Linked DNA regions of Homo sapiens: region 2 is linked to region 1. The links are contacts of gene promoters, found by promoter capture Hi-C in blood cells and fetal thymus (Javierre and others, 2016). All regions are on one chromosome and are shown on one strand. Each heading gives the region's core, a stretch centred on a gene start or on the middle of the fragment in contact. The rest is flanking DNA. Distances are from core to core; before and after follow the strand shown. Region 1 holds the start of MBP (myelin basic protein). Region 2 overlaps MBP (myelin basic protein).

What was found. The method cuts DNA at HindIII sites, captures the fragments that hold promoters and counts their contacts. A CHiCAGO score of 5 or more calls a contact.
Region 2: a contact is called between a fragment that was not itself captured here and the fragment with the promoter of MBP in region 1, in 15 of 17 cell types (monocytes, non-activated CD4 T cells, naive CD4 T cells and 12 more). The highest score is 14.6, in monocytes.

The regions. Positions count from the first base shown.
Region 1 is chr18:77,131,264-77,135,519 of GRCh38, reverse strand. MBP (myelin basic protein) reads left to right here and starts at 2,737. Exons shown (of 9, transcript NM_001025101.2): 1 at 2,737-2,940. RefSeq lists a silencer at 2,473-3,772. The HindIII fragment of the contact is 15,459 bases long and covers 1-4,256 here.
Region 2 is chr18:77,001,221-77,007,437 of GRCh38, reverse strand. All of the region lies in intron 4 of MBP (myelin basic protein), which reads left to right. Among named protein-coding and RNA genes, the nearest start is that of MBP-AS1, 24 kb to the right of the region's middle. RefSeq lists enhancers at 171-1,069, 1,070-1,969. The HindIII fragment of the contact is 945 bases long and covers 3,481-4,425 here.

The DNA.
Region 1 (4,256 bases), core at 1,488-3,987:
GGATGACTATTACCTCCACACTGCAGATGAAGAGACTGAGGCTCAGAGAGGTTTAGACCAGGTCTGAAAATCATATTCAGTCCTGGCCGGGCGTGGTGGCTCAGGCCTGTAATCCCAGGACTTTGGGAGACCCAGGCAGGTGGATCACCTGAGGTCAGCGGTTCGAGAACAGCCTGGCCAACGTGGTGAAACCCCATCTCTACTAAAAATACAAAAATTAGCTGGGCATGGTAGCGGTTGCCTATAATCCCAGCTACTCGGGAGGCTGAGGCAGGAGAATTGCCTGAACCTGGGAGGCGGAGGTTGCAGTGAGCTGAGATTGCACCATTGCACTCCAGCCTGGGCCACAGAGCAAGACTCCATCTAAAAAAAAAAAAGAAAGAAAAAAAAAAGTTCAGTCCTTTCCTAAGCAAAACATCATAACAAAGACAAATCTGTTGATGAGGAAACTAAAGAAAACTCAAAGTTCGTGCAGTCTGAGGTCTGTTGGAAACTATTTAGATTCATTTACTTCCTTTAGCTTGGGTAATTTGGAGTTTAATTCAGCTTAACAAAAATTTATTGAGTGTATTTCATGCACAAAACATTTTGCTATTTGCTGCCATATGAGATGATGGATAGGTCAAACTTTCTGCTCTCCGGTACCTTGTGAAAGATGGGGGTAACTGCAATGTGATTTTCTTAGAAATGTCAAAGACACAATGAGGCTTTGATGGGTTACTTGTCAAAAGATGCCTTTCAATTTTATTCAGCACAACGAATCTCTGTCACTTTGCTGAGGGCTACATGGACATCTTCATGTGAAAGTTTGTCTCTCGACAGTGAAATGCCAGCCTCTGTTTCTTCCATCCACTGTCCTCAACCTGGGGTCCTTTTTCTAACCGGGAGGGCATGAAAGCCCCCAAGATAAGACCAGTTGATCCAAATGTGAATCCACTGTTTTATTAAATAGTATTATCTACATGTTTTCTTTGAAGAATCCATGACTTTTCTAAACTGCCTGGCTGCCCATCTGTGTGGACACTCTATCCCAACAAAATATGCACGGTGAAATTTCATAAATACTTTAAAAAGACTTTTAACTGGAACTTGTGGAGCCTGACATTTGTAGGGCTGACTGTTGGCATATGTAGTGTTTCAGGAAACCACTGTAACACCAGCAGAAGGAGCACCAAACAGAAGGCCGCGTGTGCAGCTGTCACTGTGGCCTGAGGGACGCTCCAGAGCCCAGCACACAGGGACATCTGCAGGCAGGAAGGTGGCCCCGCCCTGTGGAGTCACTGAGATAAAGCCAAGAGATATTTTGGGGAGGAAAAGCTGTTTCTGATGCTAAAGCAGGTATCTAAAATGGGACCCATTTTAGTGTTCCAGCTTCCCCAGCCTGAGCTTTGAGTGACTTGAGCTGGGACCTGGGTGCACCCGGGTTCATTGTCACCACCCGTGCTCCTAGGGCAGCTGTCCAGCCTCCCACGCCCACTCCGCTCATCCTTGACTTAAAGTGAGGTTGTGGGGCAGAAAAATTGGAGAAACACACTATCTTTGGCACCCTTTTCCCTCCTCACCTTCAGCCTCAAAGTCTCAGAACCCTCCTGCCCCCTCCACTTGAAAATCTCTCCTGAGGAAACGACCAGACTGAATGCTTTTGCGTCGTTGTGGAAGTATTTCTCTTCCAGTTGCCAGCATTTGAAGACAGTTGCTAAATCCTCCGGGGCTTTGGGGGAGGCTGGTTTTAGGCCGAAACCCCGACCCCGTGCTGAAGTCTGAGTCCCGCCTCCCAGCGCGGGCCGGGACAGCGCTCACCCCTCTCCCTCACTTCCTAACAAACTGTGTGGGTCCCAGGCTGCTCCAGGTCCCCTGGAAGCTCCAGATCCAGATCCCTGACTGGGGGTGTAGGTCAGGAGGAACGCGGGGCCTCATTCTGGGACTCCCCCAACCTCCTCCTCTTCCACCATCAGGAGGCTGAGAATCCAGAGAAAGATCTCTGACCACTAAATCTGTGTGCAGGTGAGTCACGGCTAAACAGCAGGCTTTTTCTTTTTAACAAGACAGCGACGAAGACCACGATGTCTCTGGGCTGCAGGACCAGGCTGCTTCCTCGCACCTGCGCGTGTTTTGCTGTCTTTTCCGCGCACGCTTCCTGCGCCGGTCCTGCAGGAGAAGGTGCGCCCCTAGCTCCCAGCTCCCAGCTCCCAGCTCCCAGAGGAGCACCTGCCAGCCGGACATGGGCCTGGCCTGGGCTCCAGGGGAGGGAGGGAGTGCCTTGGGAGGACCTGCCGGCTCCTTTCGCCTCCAGGCCGGGCTGACTCTCCTCCTGCAGGGCCGGGGCTGCGCCAAGTCTATCGGCAGTTTCTGGGGTTTCCAGCCCCTGAGGACGCGGGGAGATGCGGCCTGGCACCCCTCCCGCGAGGTCGAGGTCGGGGTCGGGGTGGGTTCGGAGGCCAAGCCTCCGAACGGGAAGGGTCGACGGGCCGCAGTTCGGAGCCCAGTTCGGCAGCGGGCGAGGCTCCAGGCCGCCCCTCCGAGGTCTGACCCTGCGCGTGGGCCCCGTGCGCCCCCCAAGTTCCGCGTGGGCAGAGCGGGCCCGGGGTCCTCCGAGCTCCCGGGGCGGCGCCGGCGGCCGCGTCCAGGTGGGGCGGGCCCGGCGGGATCGGCCTGTGTTTACCTGGCTCGCAGGAAGCCCGGGGAGGCGGGGCCGGGGAGCTGGGTGCGCGCCCGTCCCTCGGAGCCGCCGCCGTCAGTCACCGCCGCCGCGCGCCAGAGAGAAGCAGCCTCCGGCCCCGGCGGCCCCTGTCTCCCGACCCCGGAAGGCGAAGCAGGCTGCCCGGGGACCCCGCGCGTGGGCGCTTGAAGCCGAGACCAGCCTGCCCGGGCCTGGGCAGGCGGAGCAGGGCCTTGGACCCCGCGGCGCCCCTCGGCCTCGGAGCAACGAGCGCAGCGCCGGTGGGTGACCCTCGGGGACGGGCGGGCTGCTCTGCCGCCTTTGTCTCTGTGCCCCTCCGAGTGGGGACCGCGGAGACCTGGGCGGGACCCCGGACCGGAGCCCCGCGGGAGCCGGGGGCGCAAGATCGGGGACAGGAGCTATCCCGACGCCCGGACTCCGGGTCCCTTTCTTGGCTGGGGACGCGCAGGGAGAACCTAGGCAGCGGAGCAGGTGGCCGAGCAGGTAGCAGCCGGCGGCCTCCCTGACCCGAACCCAAGTCGCCGCCCCCGATCCCCATTGCGCGGGGGCTGGGCGCGGGTGTAGACGCGGGTTTACAGCGCCGGGGCCCGACCCTGACAGGTGTCCAGGGGTGGACTCCAGCCAGGCCCGGCGGTCCCAGGGTCGCTGAAACCGCTCGGCCTCGGGCCGTGGGGCTGAGGGGAGGAGTCTAGGGTGGGAGGGGACGGCGGTCAAAAGCGGCCACTCTGGGCGGGTGTGGAGAGGGTGCTGGCTGCCAGGGCGGGCTGGGGGGTCCTCCCGGCTCGCGGCGCCTGCTAATCACACCCCGGGGGCCCCGCGCGCGATCGCGCTCCTGCCCCTGCCCCCGGGGCGAAGCGCAGTCTCCCTCTGAGCTCCAGGGGCGGCCAGGAGAGCCCGGGTCCGGGCTTCCGCCTTCGCAGGGCCTGTCTCGGGCTCTTCGGCCGGGCCCGTCGCTGCGCCCACCTGGGCCCACGTGCGCCGCCCGCAGCCGCCCGCCGGCCCGCCCGGGTCTTCCCGGCAGTCCCCTCCTGGGCCCCACTGCCTGTCCTGGGCCGGGTGCGTCCGTTTTCCGTGGCCCCCGAGGCCGGGGTGTGTGACCTGCGGTCATTTGCCGCCACACTAGATTTTCCGGGGTGCTGGGGGCAGCGCCTTGTGTCCTTTCGCGTCCACCTGAGCCCCCCCGTTTTGGAAGGTGGAGTGGGGCTTGGGAAAAGGTTCAAGCGTCTTTGGGGACCCCCGTGCGACTCTGGCTGGAAACAGGCGAGCTCTGGTTCCTTGTTCCGTTTTCCAATTGCAACAACGTGAGAATCAACAAGTGCTCGGTTTCTCTGCGCGTGGGTGAGGGGCGCGTGGGCTCGCTGGGTGCTGGGGTGGGGAGGGGGCGTGGACTTCGTTCCGGGGAGGCCTCTGCCTCGTCTGACCACAGAACGCCCCGCCTGGAAAGAGAGTTTTTCAGAGGAAGGAAACGTCAGGGAACTCCAGTGTGTGTTTTGGACATTTTATCTGGCGAAGCTCCGGGGGACAGTTTAAGGACGGTCACCCTCAAGTCAGGGGACCGTATGGATTGAGCAGGTCC
Region 2 (6,217 bases), core at 2,704-5,203, 130 kb after region 1:
CCATCTCTGCAGGAGGTGCACACAGAGGGTGCAGGCGGGCTGGTCTGAGAGCCCCCAGGGGTGCCCCTGCCCGAAGACGGTGGCAATCCCACGCCATTTGCATATTGAGTGGAAGAATAAGCGAGGAGCTTCCCTCTCTCGTCCCTGAGAAGGAGCTTTTGAGTTAGAATGCCTTCCTCCGGTACTTTGGGATGCTTTATTATTGCAAGAAAGTGGCTGTGAGGGCACCAGCCACGGAAGAAGGAATTGCAAGGCCGGAGGCACTAAATGGTTTTAAAATACAGAGGGATTTTAAAATGCAGGGATTCCATGACAAAGGACCCTTGAAGTCAGCTCCCAACGGAGACAGAAGCAGCTGGGTGGAAGGCTCAGGCTGAGCAGTGCCAGGAACCAGCAGAGTCGGAACCAAGAACTCCCTGCCCTGCGGCTGAGAAACGCGAGCTGAACAGAGGGCCTCCGCCTGGGTCCACCTCACCCTGTGTCCTCTCCCTCCCTGTCTCTCTGTCTGTCTACTTCCCCCTCTCTCCCTCCCTCTTCGTGTCTCTCTCTTCCTCTTCCCTCTCTCTCTCTGTGCAAACACACCAGGAGGGTAAGGGAGACACCCCAGCTATGAAATAGGCAACAAGGCAAAGAACAGCCTGGCTCCCGTGCTGCGGTGCCCCCTCCAGCACGGGACCCTGCTCCGAGCTCCCTGACTCCCAGAGACACCGGTGCTCTCGGGGCTGACAGGGCTCTTTTCTTTGAGGACTGGAAGGCAGGCAGCGGGAGCACAGTAGGGGAATATTGCGACATGCGAGAACCCAAAAGCAAGCTGGGGAAGCAAGGATTCTGAGGGGAGAGGAGCAACACGCACGATGGGGAATGGCTGCGTGGGAAGTGGACCCACTGTTCTCTGCAGTTCCTCTGTCTGCTCAGCCCCTGCCTGCCCGCCTGCCTGTCCATCCCGTGCTGCAGGTCCCTGGAACCCGGTGCTGGGCCTGCACTGGAGGCTGGAGTGAGGGCGCCAGTGGTGCAGCTGGAAAGGTGGCCCCGGGCAGGGCGGCTCCTCTCGGCCCCGCCAACGGTGCCAGCTCCTCCAAGCTCCAGGCTCGGCCTGGGGCCCAGGACACTGACCTGAGCAGGAAGGGGCTGCTCTGGGCTTCCAGCAGCCACTGTCTCCGAGTCCTCGGACGTCCTTTCTGCCTCTTTCTCACAGACCCTTGTGCTCCTGGCCTGACTTGGAGGACACTGTCCACCCCTCAGCCTTGGCGCCCATGGAGGCTTCTGGAAAGACCTGCCCTGCCTCTGAATCCACCATCACCCAGCACACTGGCGTTTAGGAAGCAAAGCATTTTGTGCCATGGGAAAGCACAGGAGGAAGAACCAAAAATGCTTGGCTCAGGTCTCATGGCACTGCGTCATAGCCGTGGACCTGGGGCAGGTGTCTGTCTTCTCTGAGCTTCCTTCCCTCTCCTGTGAAACAGCAATGGTGGCAAAAGCGTCACCTGTCCTGCAGATGCTTTGGAACGTTGTGCTGATCAAGCAAGAAAAGCAATGCAAAGGCCCCACAGGAGCCTCGTCCTCTGAAAACATTGGTGTCATCATAACCCTGCCCCAGTGCCACTCCACACTCGTGCTATTCTGGAAGAGGCCTGGCCACCCTCAGAGCTGCTGGGGAGGGCAGTGCTGGCTCTAAAAGCCCTGCTGGCCCTGGCCCCTCTGCCCCTCAAGGCTGTAGCTTTGGGTCCTCTGTGTTTCTGTGCTGGGGCCTTAGTTTCCGAAACTGTAAAATGAAAATCCGAGCGGTGAACCTCATATCAATCCCTGCTCCCACCATTCTCAGAAGGAAATGGTAATCAAGCCTCAAAAGCCCCATGGTTGGGGCAGCTGGACTAGAACTTCACTCTCTGGCCATCAGCTCCGAGTCATCTGCGTTTGGGAAACAGACGTCTCTGAGCCTCCCCCGTGGGAGAGGAGTCCCTCTTGCCATGAGGAAGAGGAATTTTTTCCGTGGGTCTCTCGGGACAAGGAACAGAGACCCTGCTTCCCGGAGCTGTGGTCATGAAGGGTGTGCTCCTGCATGGAGACGCCATGGCAACATGGTACCTGGGGGCGGGCTGCCATCAAGGTGCCAACCAGAGAGGCCATGGCACAGCCACCCGGCGGAAAGCACACAACCATTTTAAGGACTTCCTCGCCAATCTGACAGCAGCTTTCGCCTCTGACAGGTGCCGTTTGTCCACCTCCGTTGCTTCTCCCTCTTCGGCACACTCACCAGGATGAGGAAGCTGGAACCCGGCGTCAAAGCTCTTCCTCTTTGAGGTTAAACCCAGATCAGAAAAATGCAGCCACTGAAAGGGTTTACTTAATGGCAGAAGCACAGGCTGCCGAACTTTGATTTGTTGTATCCTTCTGTGCCCAGAGCCAGAGCCCCAATGTGGGTCCCACAAGGTTTCGTGCCAAGAGGTCTCTGATACCGACCCCTGTATCACCAGCGGACAGAGGCAAAGGCCCCCAAAGGAGGCCACGGGAGCTTCACTTCCCCATGAAACATGGGAGAGAAAACACAACCAGATATGCCCCGACCACATCTACAAAAGCAGTATCTGAATCTCTGCATCCAGCCTCACAGTTTGCTAAGAGGAGAAACGCTGATCCTTCCTGTCATGGGGCAAAGCAACAACCTCCCGAGTAGGGCACCAGAAGGGAAACCACACACACAAGCCACGGGCGCCAGCGGCCGCCACCCTGCAGCGCTCTCATTCCCAGTATCTGCAAGGAGCTGCATCCTCTGCAAGGAGCTGAGGTAACAGCCTCAGGTTACCTGAAATCTGCATCAGAACGAAAGGCTTGTCTGTGAATTTTTTCAGACATAGAGAAAAGCCCGCTATTCTGGATGGTGCACAGCTTTCTGTAAAGAAAGTAAATGCCCGTGACTTTCATTAACTCGTGCGAGCCGATGATTCAGGAATAAACATAATCTTCAACCCGGCAAAGGGCAAAAACACAGGAAAAACTGCATCTGTCATTCAGACAGAAAAGAATTCTCTCCAAACTGCAAAATCTAAAATGCCCTGATCTTGCTTTTAAAAAAAAATCTAACATACTCTCCTGAGGCATGGTAGGAGCTGTTTGACCAGAAATCGAATAATAGCTTCCTTGCGGCGGGGAGTGGGGGGGGACACATATATATATATGTGCTTTTTTTCAGAGGAAGCTATTATTTAACTAGTATTGTAACTAGTATTTAACTAGTATTGAAAAGAGAACCACAGTGTTCTGTGATTTCTCGGAATTGCCAGAGCATTATGAAGTCAGGGGGATGGAGAGTAAGAAAAGGGGAGACAGCATGGCCCACCATTTACAGTCGGATGTGTCGTCTCATCTCCAGCCTTGCAGACTTTGACACCCATGTTCTGTCCAATAATACTGATTTCACTGGTGCCTGTTTTAGCTGCTGGTTCCAGTTTCCATGGGAAACAGATACCATGACCCTAAGCTTCAGATAGTTTGCAGGGGGTCTGCTGTTTCCCACTCCCACCGGTTTTTAGGTAGAAAATACGCACGCATTGAATAACAGAAGATCCCTGGAGAGAAAGGAAGATGCTGCGTAGGTGACTGTCTCCTTTGAGCATCTTTAAGGAGGATCATTTAATCACTTAAACAAGGTTTCTGGGGATGTCAAGGATCTCTGTGAGCCACAAAAGAAGTGTGATGTAGGGAAAATGGCAGAAAAGGTGCATCTATTTCATCTAGAACTACATTTTACGATTCCTAATTCAAAAAATATACTGAAGAAGCATATTATCACTTTCACAAGAAAAAAATTATATCAAATATACCTCTGTTCTTTCTTATCATGGCAGCTCAGAAAAACAGTGACACCACTATCTTCTGTGGTTCTGAACAGGCCACACAGATTCATCCCTGAGCTCTCTGTCTCTGAGTTTTTTCAGATTAACTTCTGAGCTCTCTGGTATCTGCACTTCCTGAGAGTGCCAGAAGAATCAAATATTACTCTGGGAGGTAAAAAGAGTAAAAAGCAAATTCATTCGCCCTTCACTCTCAGGGCCACTGCTGAAACCGTCGAAATGAACAGCAGAGGTCCCGAATGCCGCTTTGTGGATGTGTGCAAAAACCCGCCATGTGCAACCTGGAAATTAAAGGAATAAGGACCAGGAGATATGTTGGTTGGTTGGTTTTCAGTCACATAGACAAAATAGGACAGTCCAGACGATGCCATCTGTCAGTCCTGAGGCATCACTCTCCACTGAAAGGAGGAACTGATGGGCCCTTTGTTTTAATTACATAGAAATGCGTCTTTTAAAATGACAGAGAAAATTGAAAAATCTCATCTCATTAACTACACTGGCATTTATTGTATCCATCAGTGTTTACTAGAAAATTAGTTCCCAATTATTTTGGTAAACAGCAGCAATTGAAGCTTCCCTCATTCCCTAGACACTAACTGGCATATGTCATTGACTTTGTCTACAGATACTAGTTTATTTTTCTCGTCTGTGAGCACACTGTTAGTTCTAGCCAATAGCTTCATAACTTACTACAAGGTAAGTCTACAAATTCTTGTAATAAAATACAATTTAAAAATCCGTTCTTCTCCCTTCCCTTTTCCCTTTCTCCTATGACTAGCCAGTGAATTTCCCCATAGGCCGCTGACTTTCAGGTGGGTAACGTGAGCCTCTCATCCTACGTTCACTCCACAAGAGTCTCGCTTGGCATGCAGTCTAAAGTTCAAGCCCTAGACAGCTAGCAGCCTCTGCGAGCAGCTCCCTGAACCTCTGTGCATCTCAATATTCAAATCTGTAAAATGAGTGGTGACGTGGGAGCAGTGCTGAATGATATTTTTGGTTTACGATCACACCTCGTGTTTTAAAACCAAGACGCCTTGCTTTCTCTATTCTGGCTTTGCATTGAATCCTTTTGGGGACACAGGGAAAACATGTACATTCCTAGAACTTGGACCACTTACTTGATTAAGACAATGCCCATAAGGAAATCCCTACTGCATTTAGCCACTGGATGGTAGATGCTGCTCTCTGGGCATATTGAGATACATTAACAAAGAGACATTTTTCTAACGTGTCATTCTGCAATGACATCATGGACCACACGACAAAGGGAAGAACAGGTGCTTGCTAAGGCTCCACAGCCGAGTGCTGATGGGTGCATCTCTGTAGCAAAGGCCCTAATGGGAGGCCCAGGTGGAGAGAGCCAGGTGCATGGGACCCTGCCGTGGTTGCCTCCATGAGAACGCACCATTCCAGGTTTACGAGAGGCCAGAGGTCTCCAGGCGGCAACTCCACATGGAGCCAACTTCCTGTGCTCCATCCCATCAGGTGGGAAAATGGGGCAGATGTTATCAACACTCAGTTATTTGACCCACTTCCCCAAAACTGGCACATAATCAATACAAATGGGGAAACAAAATGTACTGTGTTAATATGTGTGATCTGAAAGGAGGCAGATCATCTCTAATGATAGTTAGAAGATGTTCCAACACGTGGCTGTGTCAGTAAGAACACTATCATGAGGGGAGGGTGTAGATGAGCAGGAACTTTCTTACAGGCTTTTTTTCTTTTCTTTTTTTTGAGATGAAGTCTCACTTTGTCACCCAGGCTGGAGTGCAGTGGCTTGATCTCGGCTCACTGCAACCTCCGCCTCCCAGGTTCAGGTGATTCTCCTGCCTCAGCCTCCCAAGTAGCTGGGATTACAGGTGTCCGCCACCACGCCCAGCTAATTCTCGTATTTTAGTAGAGAGGGGGTTTTGCCACGTTGGCCAGGGAGGTCTCAAACTCCTGATCTCAGGTGATCCACCCGCCTTGGCCTCCCAAAGTTCTGGGATTACAGGTGTGAGCCACCGTGCCTGGCCTCTTACGGGCATTTTCTTAAGTAAGTCATCCAAGTTCTAGGAATGCACACTTCTCCTTGTGTCTCCAAAAGGATTCCATGTGAAATAGGAGTAGAGACCTCCAATACCTCGCCCATCTGTTAAAACTGCAGCGTGGGTACCCTGGCAGGCTCATTAGCTGCCGTGGACTGCTGCGGAGTGGCTGGAGACTGTCAGGCTACGCTGGGCCGATCTTCTGGGTAGGTGTATCTACACCCGTGTATCTAGTGATTTACTCTCCTCTGGAAGAGAAACGCGGGCACACCCCAGCCTGGGATGGCAGGCGAGGAACCCCCAAGCCCCAGCCCTGCATGGTCCCACCTGGAGGCT